2 separate regions of the Homo sapiens genome follow, and region 1 is linked to region 2. The links are contacts of gene promoters, found by promoter capture Hi-C in human tissues and cell types (Jung and others, 2019). All regions are on one chromosome and are shown on one strand. Each heading gives the region's core, a stretch centred on a gene start or on the middle of the fragment in contact. The rest is flanking DNA. Distances are from core to core; before and after follow the strand shown. Region 1 overlaps GDPD4 (glycerophosphodiester phosphodiesterase domain containing 4). Region 2 holds the start of GDPD4 (glycerophosphodiester phosphodiesterase domain containing 4).

Evidence for each region. The method cuts DNA at HindIII sites, captures the fragments that hold promoters and counts their contacts. A contact is called where the count stands out against the background at its distance.
Region 1: a contact is called between a fragment that was not itself captured here and the fragment with the promoter of GDPD4 in region 2, in 2 of the 25 tissues and cell types used here (neural progenitor cells and thymus).

What each region holds. Positions count from the first base shown.
Region 1 is chr11:77,225,384-77,228,804 of GRCh38, forward strand. GDPD4 (glycerophosphodiester phosphodiesterase domain containing 4) reads right to left here. Exons shown (of 17, transcript NM_182833.3): 16 at 2,481-2,533. Among named protein-coding and RNA genes, the nearest start is that of GDPD4, 75 kb to the right of the region's middle. The HindIII fragment of the contact is 7,413 bases long and covers 1-3,421 here.
Region 2 is chr11:77,300,092-77,303,182 of GRCh38, forward strand. GDPD4 (glycerophosphodiester phosphodiesterase domain containing 4) reads right to left here and starts at 1,595. Exons shown (of 17, transcript NM_182833.3): 1 at 1,514-1,595. The HindIII fragment of the contact is 16,410 bases long and covers 1-3,091 here.

The DNA.
Region 1 (3,421 bases), core at 368-2,867, 75 kb before region 2:
GGAGCAGAGGCAGAAAAATATTTGAAGAAATAAAGACTAAAATTATGTCCAATTTGATGAAAATTATACTCTGACAGATCTAAGAATTTCAGCAAACCCTAATCAAGATAGTCTCTCTCTCCCTCTCACATGCACGCACACGCACGAAGTTAAGCCATAATCAAACTACTAAAAACCAATAATAAAAGGAATAATCTTAAAATGTAGCCAGAGGAAAAAAGACACGTTACAAACAGAAGAACAGGGGTAAGAAAACTGAAACTTTACATAAGAAACTACATACGACAGAAGACAACAAAATTGACTTAAATTGCTGAAAAATACCCCCTCACACTAGAGAGAGGCCTTCTGGTGGTAGACATGGCATCAGTAGGTGCAGCAGTACGTGCCCATCCTGGAGGTGGCATGGGGCAACACATGGCACTCCGTATTTAGCAAATGAGGCTCCATTCTCCTCAACTTTAATGGATCTGGGCTGTGGTTATGGCTGAGGTCCTGACTTCTGTCTAGTCTTCCTTGTTCCTTCCCTGATTCTAAACTTGGTCCTGCACCTTCTAGATATCTCTTTGAGGTACCCAAATAGCTTTCCAATGCCTTTTCTTTCTGCTTAGATCAAGAAAAACTGGTTTCTCTAATAGGCAACCTAAGAGCTCTTAAAAACAGAAAATCCTTCATTTATTTTCTACTCACCTTTTCTCATCACCATTTTAGCATAGTAGTGGGTAGGGTCAAGTTAACTGTTACTTTTTCTAAGCCACCTCTTTTATCTAGGTTTATATAGTTCTTCAATTTTACTTTCAAAACTTCTTTCCCAGCCATGTTTCCTCCTCATCTCCATGTTCTATCACTGCTTGGCTGGATTATTGTTATGGGCTGAATTATGTCCCCCCAACTCCAATTTCATATGTCAGAGTCCTAACCCTCAGTGTGACTGTATTTGGAGACAGGGCACTTCAGGAGTAATTAAGGTTAAATGAAGCCATAAGGGTGGGGCCCTAATCCAACAGGACTGGTGCCCTTATGAGAAGAGGAAGAGAGACCCGAGATCCCACTCTCCCAAGCACACACACAGAAAAGGCCATGTGAACACACAGTGAGAAGGCAGCTGCATTCAAGCTAAGAAGACAGTGCTCACTAGGGCTCCTCACCAAATTTGCCAGCACCTTGATCTGGGATTTCTAGCCTCCAGAACTGTGAGAAAATAAATTTCTGTTGTTCAAGCCACCCAGTCTATGGTATTTTGTTATGGCAGCCCTAGCTTACTAAGGAACAACTACTGATATAATCATAAACTAGCTGCAATCGTCAGTTAGCTTCAGACTTTGTAACGTAGCCAGTAGAGTGATCTTAAATTCCATGTAATTTGTAACTCAAGTAACCATGTAACTTGAGGTCGCCCTGCCTCAGACCTGGGTAAACTTGGCTTAAACCTCCAGTTTCACAGCATATGAAAGACCATTGCCTTCTATTTAATTTATTCAAATTTCTAAACTTAGTTTTTCATGATCCCTGTGGATTCATTCCTGCAACCCTAAGTGTTGTATCAGTTCCACTCATCTGCCAGCTGGTACATGGAATATCAGGAGCTTCACCATTGTCCATAAGAAATTAAATTAAATTCATGATTTTGTGACTGTTCCAACTTTAATTAAGTCTCCAGGAGTTGCGGAAGGAAATTATATCCCACACCGCGCAGTCTTCTGCCTCCTAATTGGTTTCCCTTTGACACTGCATTGGCTTCCAAAACTTACTGTGTGATCATCCTCACAACCCTCAAAGAAACTCTAGCATCCCTTCCCCTTACTAAGCCTAATTCACTTCCTCAGCCCTTTACACAGAAATCTAACCATGTCGCTTCCTTGTGTGAATGAAAGCGATAATGCCATCTCCTAACTGCCAATATGCAGTGACTTGACTCTGGTTTAGCAATTCCAGGACCGCTGAAGTTTTCTTCCTCTAGCCTCCAACATATATCACCCACAAATGATACCCATAAAGCACCTTCCCCCTAATGGGCATGGCAGCTACTCTGTCCTGGACCTAGATGCCTGGCCCAGTGATGTCAATGCTATACTTTTGCCTTCTTCCTCACTGCTCTTTAAGGACCAGCCCCTCCCCTCTCTCAGGCCACCCTCCAGAGACATCTTTCGGTTATCTTCAGCCCCTCTCTAAGTGCCTTGCACAAAGTGTGGACTCAGTGGCTGTATGATACATGAATATATGAAGAAGTAAACACCCATGCTTGAAATCTTCCAAGGGGCCTCACTGCTTAGAGGATGAAATCTAAAATCTGAAGCCTGATGTACAGAGTCCTCCAGAATCTATGCCCAGCCTATACTTCCCCTGGTCCCTCCCCCAACCCCACCCCCAACTTTCCAGACACCCTCAGCTCTTGTCAGGGACATGAAAAGCTGCCTCTGTCTCCTGGAAGCAATGGGTAGGGATGAAGAGACAGGAGTGGGCTAGGCCTCTGACTTTACCTGTGCGAGTGCTGGAGGTTTCAAACAATTTTTCTTTTTCAGTCTCTCTCCGCCTAGAAGGAAGCAGACCATCCATGAAATGAAGGGGTCTAAAGAATCATGGTCTCTTCTAACGTTCCTCCTCCAGGATCTTCTTCCCCCTTCCATCTTGAAACTTACAATCCTATAGCATTTGCCTGCAAGGATTCCCAAATGTCATTTTCTTCTACAGATAAAAAGATTATGGGCGAGGCACGGTGGCTCACACCTGTAATGCCAGCACTTTGGGAGGCTGAGGCAGGCGGATCACCTGAGGCGGGGCCAACATGGTGAAACCCCATCTCTACTAAAAATACAAAAATTAGCCAGGCATGGGCCAGGCAGGGTGGCTCACCCCTGTAATCCCGGCACTTTGGGAGGCCGAGGCGGGCAGATCACAAGGTCAGGAGTTCAAGACCAGCCTGACCAATATGGTGAAACCCCACCTCTACTAAAAATATTTTTAAAAAAAATTAGCTGGGCATGGTGGTGCCTGTAGTTCCAGCTACTCGGGAGGCTGAGGCAGGAGAATCGCTTGAACCCAGGAGGCGGAGGTTGCAGTGAGCCGAGATCGTGACACTATACTCCAGCCTGGGTGACAGAGCAAGACTCCGTCTCAAAAAAAAAAAAAAAAAAAAAAAAAAAAATTAGCCAGGCACAGTGGCAGGCACCTGTAATCCCAGCTACTCGGGAGGCTGAGGCAGGAGAATCACTTGAACCCAGGAGGTGGAGGCTGCAGTGAGCCGAGATCATGCCACTGCATGCCACCGCACTCCAGCCTGGGCAATAGACTGAGACCCCATCTCAAAAAAACGAACAAAAAAAATATTATGGCCCAGAAAGAAGCAGTTGTTTTCCCAGGGTCACCTAGCAACTAAGGGACAAAGCCAGAGCTAAAACCCAGTCTTCCTGGTTTATGAACT
Region 2 (3,091 bases), core at 345-2,844:
GCAACCTTTTTTGATCACCTGCTCCATCCTGACTCATTCTGATTACCAGCTCTGCCCTGACTCATCCTGATCACCTGCTCCACCCTCACTCCCGCCAAACCACTCACCCCGTCACTCTCTCTAAATTAGCCAATTGGAATTAGTTTAGCCTGTGCGGTCTAACACTAGCCAATAGGGGAACGACACAGCAGCAGGGGCCACGTGTGTCAGGAATAAGAACCCCTTCCCCTCCCTTGTCCAAGTGTGTGCTCACCATTGCTCCATATGTAAGGGTGCACCCTTCTATAGAAGTATATTGCCTTGCTAAGAATTAAAAAGAAAATTTTATATTTGAGTGCTATTTCTTTTGCGGCACCGAAACTATAACAGTACCCAATCACCTAGTCTCTAAGGGAGAAATGGACAAATGCATAATCATGGTAGGAGATTTAACACACCTCTTAAAAAAAAAACAGAATAAGCAGAAAAAAAGTCTGTAAGGATATAGACGACTGTAAAAGTTGATTAACTAGTCTTAACATTTATAGAACACTGTACTCAACAAATGCAGAGTGTACTTTAAAATGGACATGGAATATTTATCAAAAATCACAATTGGTTTTAATAAACCTTGACATCTTAAGAATATATCTTCTGACTACAGTGCAATTTAACTGGAAATCAGTAAGAAAAACAAATTGCACATTTGGGAATTAAACACACAGAAACCTACGCATGGTCAAAGAAAAATCACAATGGAAATGAGAAAAAAACTTTCAGTTGGTTAATGATGAAACTACTGCATATATATAGAACTTGGTGTGACTAATTGCAAATACTGGGGTGTCCAAGGGCAGACGTTATGAACAAAAAGCTCTATGGGAGGATGGTAAGCTGCTTGGATATCGAATAAAAGGCAGCTTTTTAACCAGAATAATTACCACCACCATTGTCTACACACCTGCAGATACTTTGTGTCTAAGCACCAGCCAGCGTAGCCACGTTTACATGAAAATTCCTAATATTTAAGGGGAGATCGAGAAACACTGTTTCCTTCCCAGAGCTCTTCTCTGAATTCTACACTCATATATCCGACAGGCTACTGAAATCTCCATTTGGATTTCTCACAGGCACCTCAAAAGTAATATGTCCAAAACTGAACCCCTGATGTTTTTTCCCTCTAAAATCGATTCCTCCTGCAATCTGTCCCATCTCAGTAAAGGTCACCGCCATTCCCCAGCTCATGAGATCAAAACCCAAGGGTTGCCGCCCAGGATTGGCATAGTCGAAGCTGATTTTTATCCCCTTCGCCATTAACAACTAGAAAACTAGAAAATACACGAAGCCGCTACTGTCAGATACTGAACAGGAGGTCCAGGCCCGTAATCCTCGAGAGGGGACACAAACGACCCGACAGAGTGAGCGAACAACGTCAAAGGGCCTCAAGTTTGGCCGCCGACTAATAATACTAATAGAACTTCCTGCTTCTGGTGCTGCTTAGGGAGGAAGCACGGAACTGGGCACATTTACTTACCGAGACTTCCCAGTCCCAACCCAAATCCAATCTTCACGCCTGAGGAGACCAGCGTCTCTTAAGATGGACGCCTGGCTGGAAGGGCAGCCCGAGGGAGGCGGGGCGGGAGGGGGCGGCCTGGCGGGGCTGTGGGCGTGGTCAAGGACACCCCGTGCCAGAGCAAGGCTGAAGCTAAGGCCAGACCCCCAGCCTTGGCTCAGAGCCCCACCTTTTAAATGTCCGGTAAGGTATGCTCTCTTTGTTTTTGGTTTGGTTTGGTTCTTACAAAAAGAACTTGACTGTTTAAGTTTAGTCCTTGTTAATAACTTAGTTCAAGCATTACCAATTTTTTGTATCCCAGTTATTCATAAAATTGCCATATATATATATACATCTATCTATATATTTATATATTTTTTAAGAGACGGGGTCTTGTCGCCCAGTCTGGGCCTCAAACTTGGGCTCAAGCAGCCTCCTGCCTCAGCCTGAAGAGTAGCTGGGACTACAGCCCTGTGCCCCCCAGCCACCACGCCCAGGCTACCTCTTTATTTTATTTTATTTTTAACTATTTTTTCTGCCTTTTTAAAACAAATTTTTAATTTTTATGGGTACATAATAAGTGTATTATTTATACAACTCATAGTAGGAATACATGAGATATTCTGATAAAGGTATACAATGTGTAAGAATCACATCAGGAGGCCAGGCACAGTGGCTCACGCCTGTAATCCCAGCAGTTTGGGAGGCCGAGGCAGGTGGATCACCTGAGGTCAGGAGTTCGAGACCAGCCAGGCCAACATGATGAAACCCTGTCTCTACTAAAATACAAAAAAATTAGCCGGGCACAGTGGTGGATTCCTGTAATCCCAGCTACTCAGGAGGCTGAGGCAGGAGAATCACTTGAACCTGGGAGGCAGAGGTTGTAGTGAGCCGAGATAGCACCACTGCACTCCAACCTGGGCAACAAGAGTGAAACTCCATCTAAAAAAAAAAAAGAATCACATCAGGTACACTGAGTATCCATCACCTAAGCATTTATCATTTCTTTGGGTTATGAACGTTCCAGTTACACTCTTAGTTATTTTTAAAAATGTTCAATAAATAATTGCTGACTGTAGTCGCCTTGTTGTGCTGTCAAATATTAGATCCTATTTATTCTAACTATATATCTGTTGTACCCAGTAACCATCCCCACTTTGCCTTACCTTTTTTAAACCAGTTTCAACCACTCAAAGGGCCACAAATGGGCCTGTTTTCGCTTTTGTTTGTTTAATCTTTGATTCCTCTAGCCATTTCTCTGACTCTGACCTCGTTCCTGAGCTCTAGACCTTTATCTCCAACTGCCAGCCACTGGCCTTCAATCTGGCCGTCCTGCTGCAGACACCTCAAACTCAGTAAACCCTAACTTAAATTCATTATCTTTCCCTTCATGTCTGCTCCATCTTCTATGGCTCTAAATCACTAAATGACAAGATGTGAAACAGATGTCTCATCCTCAACTCCTCCTATTCCTTTGCAACCCCCCAACCCTCCACCTTACACAGAGTGACCAAATTCTGCTTATTAGGATACTTCCTATTTCGCCTAGTCATTATCTTA